Linked DNA regions of Homo sapiens: region 1 is linked to region 2. Evidence: promoter capture Hi-C in 16 types of primary human blood cells and fetal thymus (Javierre and others, 2016). All regions are on one chromosome and are shown on one strand. The core of a region is centred on a gene start or on the middle of the fragment in contact, and the rest is flanking DNA. Distances in the headings are between cores, read along the strand shown. Region 1 holds the start of WSB1 (WD repeat and SOCS box containing 1). Region 2 holds the start of ZNF18 (zinc finger protein 18).

Region 1 (2,884 bases), core at 214-2,713, about 15 Mb before region 2:
TGCTACAATTTTTTCCCTTTTTTTTCTGTGTTTGTATCTTTAAAAATGGTTATTAAAACCAGGGTTAAAGTCCCTTCCTAATCAATCATCCCTAAGACAACAAAAGTCCAGAATTCTAAAACAGCTGTTTCTAGATATAAAAATTCACCCACATACAAAATAGTGCGCGTTTTGGCTACTTCAGCCTCTTCCCTTCTCTAGAAATAACTCCTCCTTGTACTTAGTAAAGGCACACATTCACTTCAAGAGTAGGAAAATGTAAATGCTCTCTGCTCAGCGGCCGCAGCTAATTATTACTTCACACAGTAAGATCAGTGTTTGCTAAGTGTTATCAGCCAATGTACAGCACCCCCCAACACCGTCAAACGTTGTTCCAGTTATTTTACTTTAAAAGAGGATTTAAATAATGCGACGTGCTTTCCACTGAGCCACTAAGTAGGTGTGGACGCACAACCTTCAACACTAATTGCCCTTTACTAAGCCGACCAGGGCTAGACACTAAGCCAGAAAAGCCTTTTCCAGAGTTTCCTCTTCCGCACAAAAGCTTTCCTTCTGTCACTCCACCCAACCACCCAGCTCCTCCCTTAAGTGTTTGAAAGATAATTCTAAAAGTCTCCTCCCCCGAACCGCTGCGTTTCTTAAGGCCACACCATTTTAAAAATACTGTATTGCTTTTGCCAGGCTGTTGGGACCTCTTCCATCTCATTTCTATCTAAGAGTGGTTGGTACACACGAGGACCCCCTCCTTTCATTACCGCTTACAACCCACAAGTTTACTTTTCCCCATTGTAAACCTAAAGTCCCTGAGTGGCCCTTCCCTGTCCACTCGACAGTCATGCCCTGAGCCAAGAACTCCCAGGACAAGAGCCCTGCGCGGACCTCCGACGAAGAAACCGGGGTCCTTGCCCGCCCCAGCCACACAGCAACCGCGAGGGAGCACAGTAGGTGCTGCATCCACGTCGGTGCCGTTTACCCCTCAGCCAACTCCCACCGAGGCGGCTTCCTCCTCCTCGCTAGTGGGCTGGCCCTGGCGCACTGGAGCTCTTCCCTCAGACTTGGAGTCGCTTCCTCCCAAACCTCCTCCGGGGAGTCCCTGCCTCTCCTCGGCCCTCATGCGCCCACCCACGGTCCCAATCCTCACCGATCTCTTTCTCGTTGACCCTCGGGGGAAAGCTGGCCATCTATGGGGCACCGTCTGATTCCGGGAATACGATGCGGACCCAACAACAGAGAAGAGAGTGGCGACCGCTGAGGGGCGTGACGCCAAGTTGGTCCCTCCCGGGCCCAGGGACAGAGGAGACGGGCGGGGGCGGCCGCTGCGGCTTCTGCTAACTGCCTCGGGAAAGCTCCCGAAGGCCTCAGACCAAAGTACGGAGTCAACCACAGACAATAGACCCTGTACCCAGCCTCGCGCCTGCGGAGGAAGACAGTTCCCCTAAAGCGCCGACTGCAAACGAGACACTGGAGTCAAAATGGCGGGCGGCGCCGGAGATATCTGGGCGGCAGGGGCGCGGCCACGTGACGTCACAGCCCGAGGCCCCCGCCTCCCGACGCACGGGACGTGATCTCCCCGGCCCGGCGCGGGCGTTGCCTGGGGGCCTCGCAGGGGGAGATCCAGCCCAGGCTGGTTCCGCTGACTCTGCCTGTAGGCCGGTGGCGTCTTCTGGGCCTGGATGGTCTAATATGGAGTTTATAAGCTGAAGTGGCTTTGAAAAGGGCAAGCAGAGAATTGTATTATTATTAGCCTCCTAGCTTAAAGATTGCATGGAACTTAAACTGGCTGAACCAAAAGAACAAAAAGACATTTCAGGTTTTCACTCAATTTGGCCAACTCCCCAGCCCACAAGTAATAGGGAACTGAAGGATGCACTGATGAAAAAGACAGGATGAAAATTAACATCGTTGTGCACCACCTGTCCAGCTGCGATTGTTCAGACCTGAGCCAGCAGGTTTTAGGAAGGGCCGAGGGGAACGAGAAGGAGACTCGGGCGTGATCGCGCCGCACCGCGCCGCGGGGCCTCTCTGGACTGCCTTTGTCCTGGCCAAGATGGATCCCACTGTCCTGGCCAAGATGGATCCCACTGTGTCAGCTCAGAATTGGCCCTTCCTCCACCTTACCTGAAGGCCTCTGGGAGGCACCTAGTTGTCCACACATCAGACTGATAAATGTGTCAGTATCTGCTAGATGCCAGCTTGGTTCCCGGTCACAGATGACGTATTTGCATTTTAATGGCTTCTCGTGTGGACCCTAAACATTGCAAAGGCCTGGGGCGTATAAGACTGGGAATTCAAATATGTGGCAGATATTCATGGGACAGAGTAGAGTGTTGCATAGCCGCTTTTTTTTTTTTTTTTTTTTTTTTTTTTGAGACGGAGTCTCGCTTCTCCCAGGCTGGGGTGCAATGGCGTGATCTTGGCTCACTGCAACCTCCGTTTCCCGGGTTCAGGCAATTCTCCTGCCTCAGCCTCCCCAGTAGCTGGGATTTGTACAGGCATGTGACACCAAGCCCGGGTAATTTTTGTATTTTTAGTACAGAGGGCGTTTCACCCTGTTGGCCAGGCTAGTCTCGAACTCCTGGCCTCGAGTGATCCGCCCGCCTCAGCCTCCCAAAGTGCTGGGATTACAACGTGAGCCACCACGCCCGGCTGCATAGCCGCTTTTAAGAGATCTCAAATGATAACACTGTAGGGCATGTTTACTTCATCTTTTCTTTGCATGAGTGTATTAATTCTTCAAATAGCGAAATGTTTAATAAAACATCGCCCCTCCTTTTTTTTTTTTTTGGTTATTTATTTATTTTTTTTTTTGAGACGGAGTCTTGCTCTGTCTCCCAGAGCAGAGTGCAGTGGCGCCAACTCGGCTCACTGCAACCTCTGCCTCCCG
Region 2 (3,165 bases), core at 95-2,594:
AGAAACTTCCACCTATGTCAGGCTGAAACAGTAGTTTCACACATAGGATCTTGTTCAGACCCTGGGACTTAAGAGAACATGTCGAATCCCTTTTCCGCTGGTCACTTTTCAGGTACATGAAGATGTAATCCCATCCCCGCATCAAGCTTTATTTCTCCAGAGGAGGATCTTTAATTCTTGTAAACATGGGACAGGTACAGGACATGTTATGATAATGACAGGTACAGGACATGTTATGATAATGACAGGTACAGGACATGTTATGATAATGACAGGTACAGGACATGTTATGATAATGACAGGTACAGGACATGTTATGATAATGACAGGTACAGGACATGTTATGATAATGACAGCTCTTCTTTAAATTTTTATTTTTTATTTATTTTATTTCCATAGGTTATTGGGGAACATGGCAGCTTTTTTTGAATACCCTCCTCTTTGCCAGTTGCCCAAGGTGGAACACCCAAACTTTGACATGATACTTCCATTAATGCAACTTAGTATCACAAGTTGATGTCGTGGCCCAGCACAGGATGGCCTGGAAACCGGCAACACTGGACGCTGGGGAAAGGGTAAGAAGGTCTTGACCATTACAAATGGTGTGGAACTGAGCCGAGGGAGGGATAGTGAGAAGGGAGAGAGGGTGAGGTGTCTGAGAGACAATGAGGTCAAATCAGAGGATTCAGCCATTGTTGGCGTGTGGGAAAGGGAAGGAGAAGGGAAGAGTCAGGGATGACATTTGTTGAGAGAGAGAGAGAGAAGAGAGAGAGACGCAGGTGGAAAGAGGATGGCACCACATTGGACTAGCCCCAACGGAATGGGGAGAAGTGGGAGAGGACCCAGGGGATGCAGAGCTGATGAGAGTGGGAGAACCAAGACAGAGGAAGAAGGTTGGGGCAAATCAAGTGTCTCAGGGAGGCCCAGTGAGGCAAGAACGGAAAGGAGAAAGGCGGCGGTTAAGAATCAGGGATAATGGCAGAGCGTTGCAGCTCTGCGGGTGGGACTGGGCGGAAGGGTTTGGGAGAGACAAAGAAATGATCTTTGAAGGCCTCGCAGTGCTTGGCCGAGTGCCTGGCACAGAATAGGTGCGCAATAAATGACGGGTGAGAAGTGAAGGAACTCAGGAACAGTGATTAGTGAGTGAGTGACGGAAGGAACGGAGGATGGCGTTGGCTCGGGAACCTCGCTGCCATGTCGGTGGAGGCTCCTGGGCTGCAACGCCAGAGAGAGGCGGGGCGTCCCCGACGGCCAATAGGAGCTTCGGTATCAGCTCCGCCCCCGCCCCCTAGCTCCGCCCGGTGCCGCACGTCGTTCGCCTGCCGCCTGAGGCGCGCGCAGCCACCCAGCTCCCGGAAGTGCGCCCGGAGCCGGCGCCGCGGGCCGAGGTGAGCGCGCTTGCGGGGCGGTCCCGGCCTCCGGCCGCTCGGGGTCAGGCCTTGCGCTATCTGCGTCCGCACCTGACTCAGCTGGGCACCCCGGAGCTACGGAGGGGCCAGCGGGCTCCCTTGCCCATGCGTCTGGGAGCGCGCGGGGGACGTGGCGAGTGCGGGGCCGGGGCAGCCATGGCTGGGAGTGGACCGTGGGTGCGGGGGGATGTGTGAACCCCGTCCCGGCTCTGCATTCCTGCGCCTCTGCGCCCCGCGGGACCGGCCGGGTCTCTGCACTGGGACCGAAAACGGGCTCCTCCCCGCTGTCTTCCCCTAAGGGCTGAAAATGAGTCTCTGGAAGAGGAAACCCGATGGGATGATGCCTGGAGTCTCTCCCTCTCTCATCAGAGTGCAGTCGGCATTTGGGGGGCGCATGGTGGAGAATACATATCCAATGAGCAGCGCTGCCCTGGCCTCGAGCACTAAATGCCAGTTCCCCTAGCTGCTTGTGACAACCAGAAAACGCCCCAACAAATCACCAGACGTTGGCAGTTCTCCCCAAAGCAAAGGCTTTAGAGCTTCCTGGGTTAATCTGGCTGCCACTTGTGAGCCTCGGAGGTTCCTGATCTGTACACCAGGGTAATTGTGGGAATTGGAAATACATGAACCGAGCTTAATAATGAGCCGATACGTAGTAGGTGCTTAACAAATGGTTACTTATATATGTAACCATGTATGTAACCACTTGTGTATATTACACCTAGAATGCACTTTTAAAAATTCATTCTATTTGTTAAAGGTTTAATAACAGGTATAACAGACAACCTTATTTTTTTTTCATAACTAATGGGGGCAGTTCCTCATGAGGTTATCGGAATATAAACTCTATTAAATTTTTAATACTATATAAAGTAATTTAATTTTGAATAATCGAGACATTTTTCTTACACACTACCTGGGAGTATAATATTACTAACAAAAGATTTAAGTATTTTATAAAATCTGTAGTTTTTCCAAAATGTCATTTCTCTTAAATATTATCTAAACTGCTATCTTAATTTAGGAAACAGATAAATTGCAGTAAGTTTACAGGTCGGTATCTTGCTATCTAAAATCTTGCCGCTTGTTATTTGAAACTCTTGAGCCAAATAGGTTGGATTTACAAAGCAAGGTATTTTTAAAAATATATTTATTCGTTTTTTAAGATGTTATTTGAAACTGTAGGTTTACCTCTGAGCTAAAGCTGCTTTTCAGGTGGTTTGATAATGCTGTCATTGTCACTCAGTATGAAAACATATTTTAATTTCCTTTGTGATTTTTTTCTTTGACTATGGGTTAAGAGCATTATTTAGTAATTTCCATAAATTGGGATTTTCTAGTTATTGTTATTGATTTCTACTTTAATTGCACTATGATCAGAGAATATATTTGAACCCAGGAAGCTCTAAAGTTTTCCATTTGACCTTTCTGGTTTTGTTTCTCTTGTGTTCCTTTTCTATCAGATATTGGGTTTTTGAGTGTTTTTTGGTATTGCTTTAATGGCTTTTTAGCAATACCACTTTGCGTAATATTTTTAGAGCTAATTTTAAGATATCAGTCATTTGAAAATTATGCATATGGTCTGTTTTGATGAATACTCTTTGCACTTGTAATGAATGTATACTCTGCAGTTCTTGGGTCTAGTGTTCTGAAAATGTCAATTAGAGCAAGTCGGTTGATAGTGTTCAGATTTTTTGACTTCACTGACTCTTTTTTTTTTTTTTTTTGAGATGGAGTCTCCCTCTGTCGCCCAGGC

What was found. Contacts are between HindIII fragments. The CHiCAGO score rates a contact against its expected background, and 5 or more counts as called.
Region 1: the fragment with the promoter of WSB1 here is called in contact with the fragment with the promoter of ZNF18 in region 2 in 3 of 17 cell types (total CD4 T cells, non-activated CD4 T cells and activated CD4 T cells); the score reaches 12.9 in total CD4 T cells.

Annotation. Positions count from the first base shown.
Region 1 is chr17:27,292,693-27,295,576 of GRCh38, reverse strand. WSB1 (WD repeat and SOCS box containing 1) reads right to left here and starts at 1,463. Exons shown (of 9, transcript NM_015626.10): 1 at 1,142-1,463. The coding sequence starts at 1,181. MIR4522 (microRNA 4522) reads left to right here and starts at 1,581; the gene lies at 1,581-1,667. RefSeq lists enhancers at 1,185-1,244, 1,255-1,314, 1,685-1,734 and a silencer at 1,435-1,644. The HindIII fragment of the contact is 5,795 bases long and covers 547-2,884 here.
Region 2 is chr17:11,995,654-11,998,818 of GRCh38, reverse strand. It overlaps ZNF18 (zinc finger protein 18), which reads left to right and starts at 1,344. Exons shown (of 7, transcript NM_001303281.2): 1 at 1,344-1,388. RefSeq lists enhancers at 776-855, 926-1,165, 280-1,263 and a silencer at 1,196-1,645. The HindIII fragment of the contact is 4,230 bases long and covers 149-3,165 here.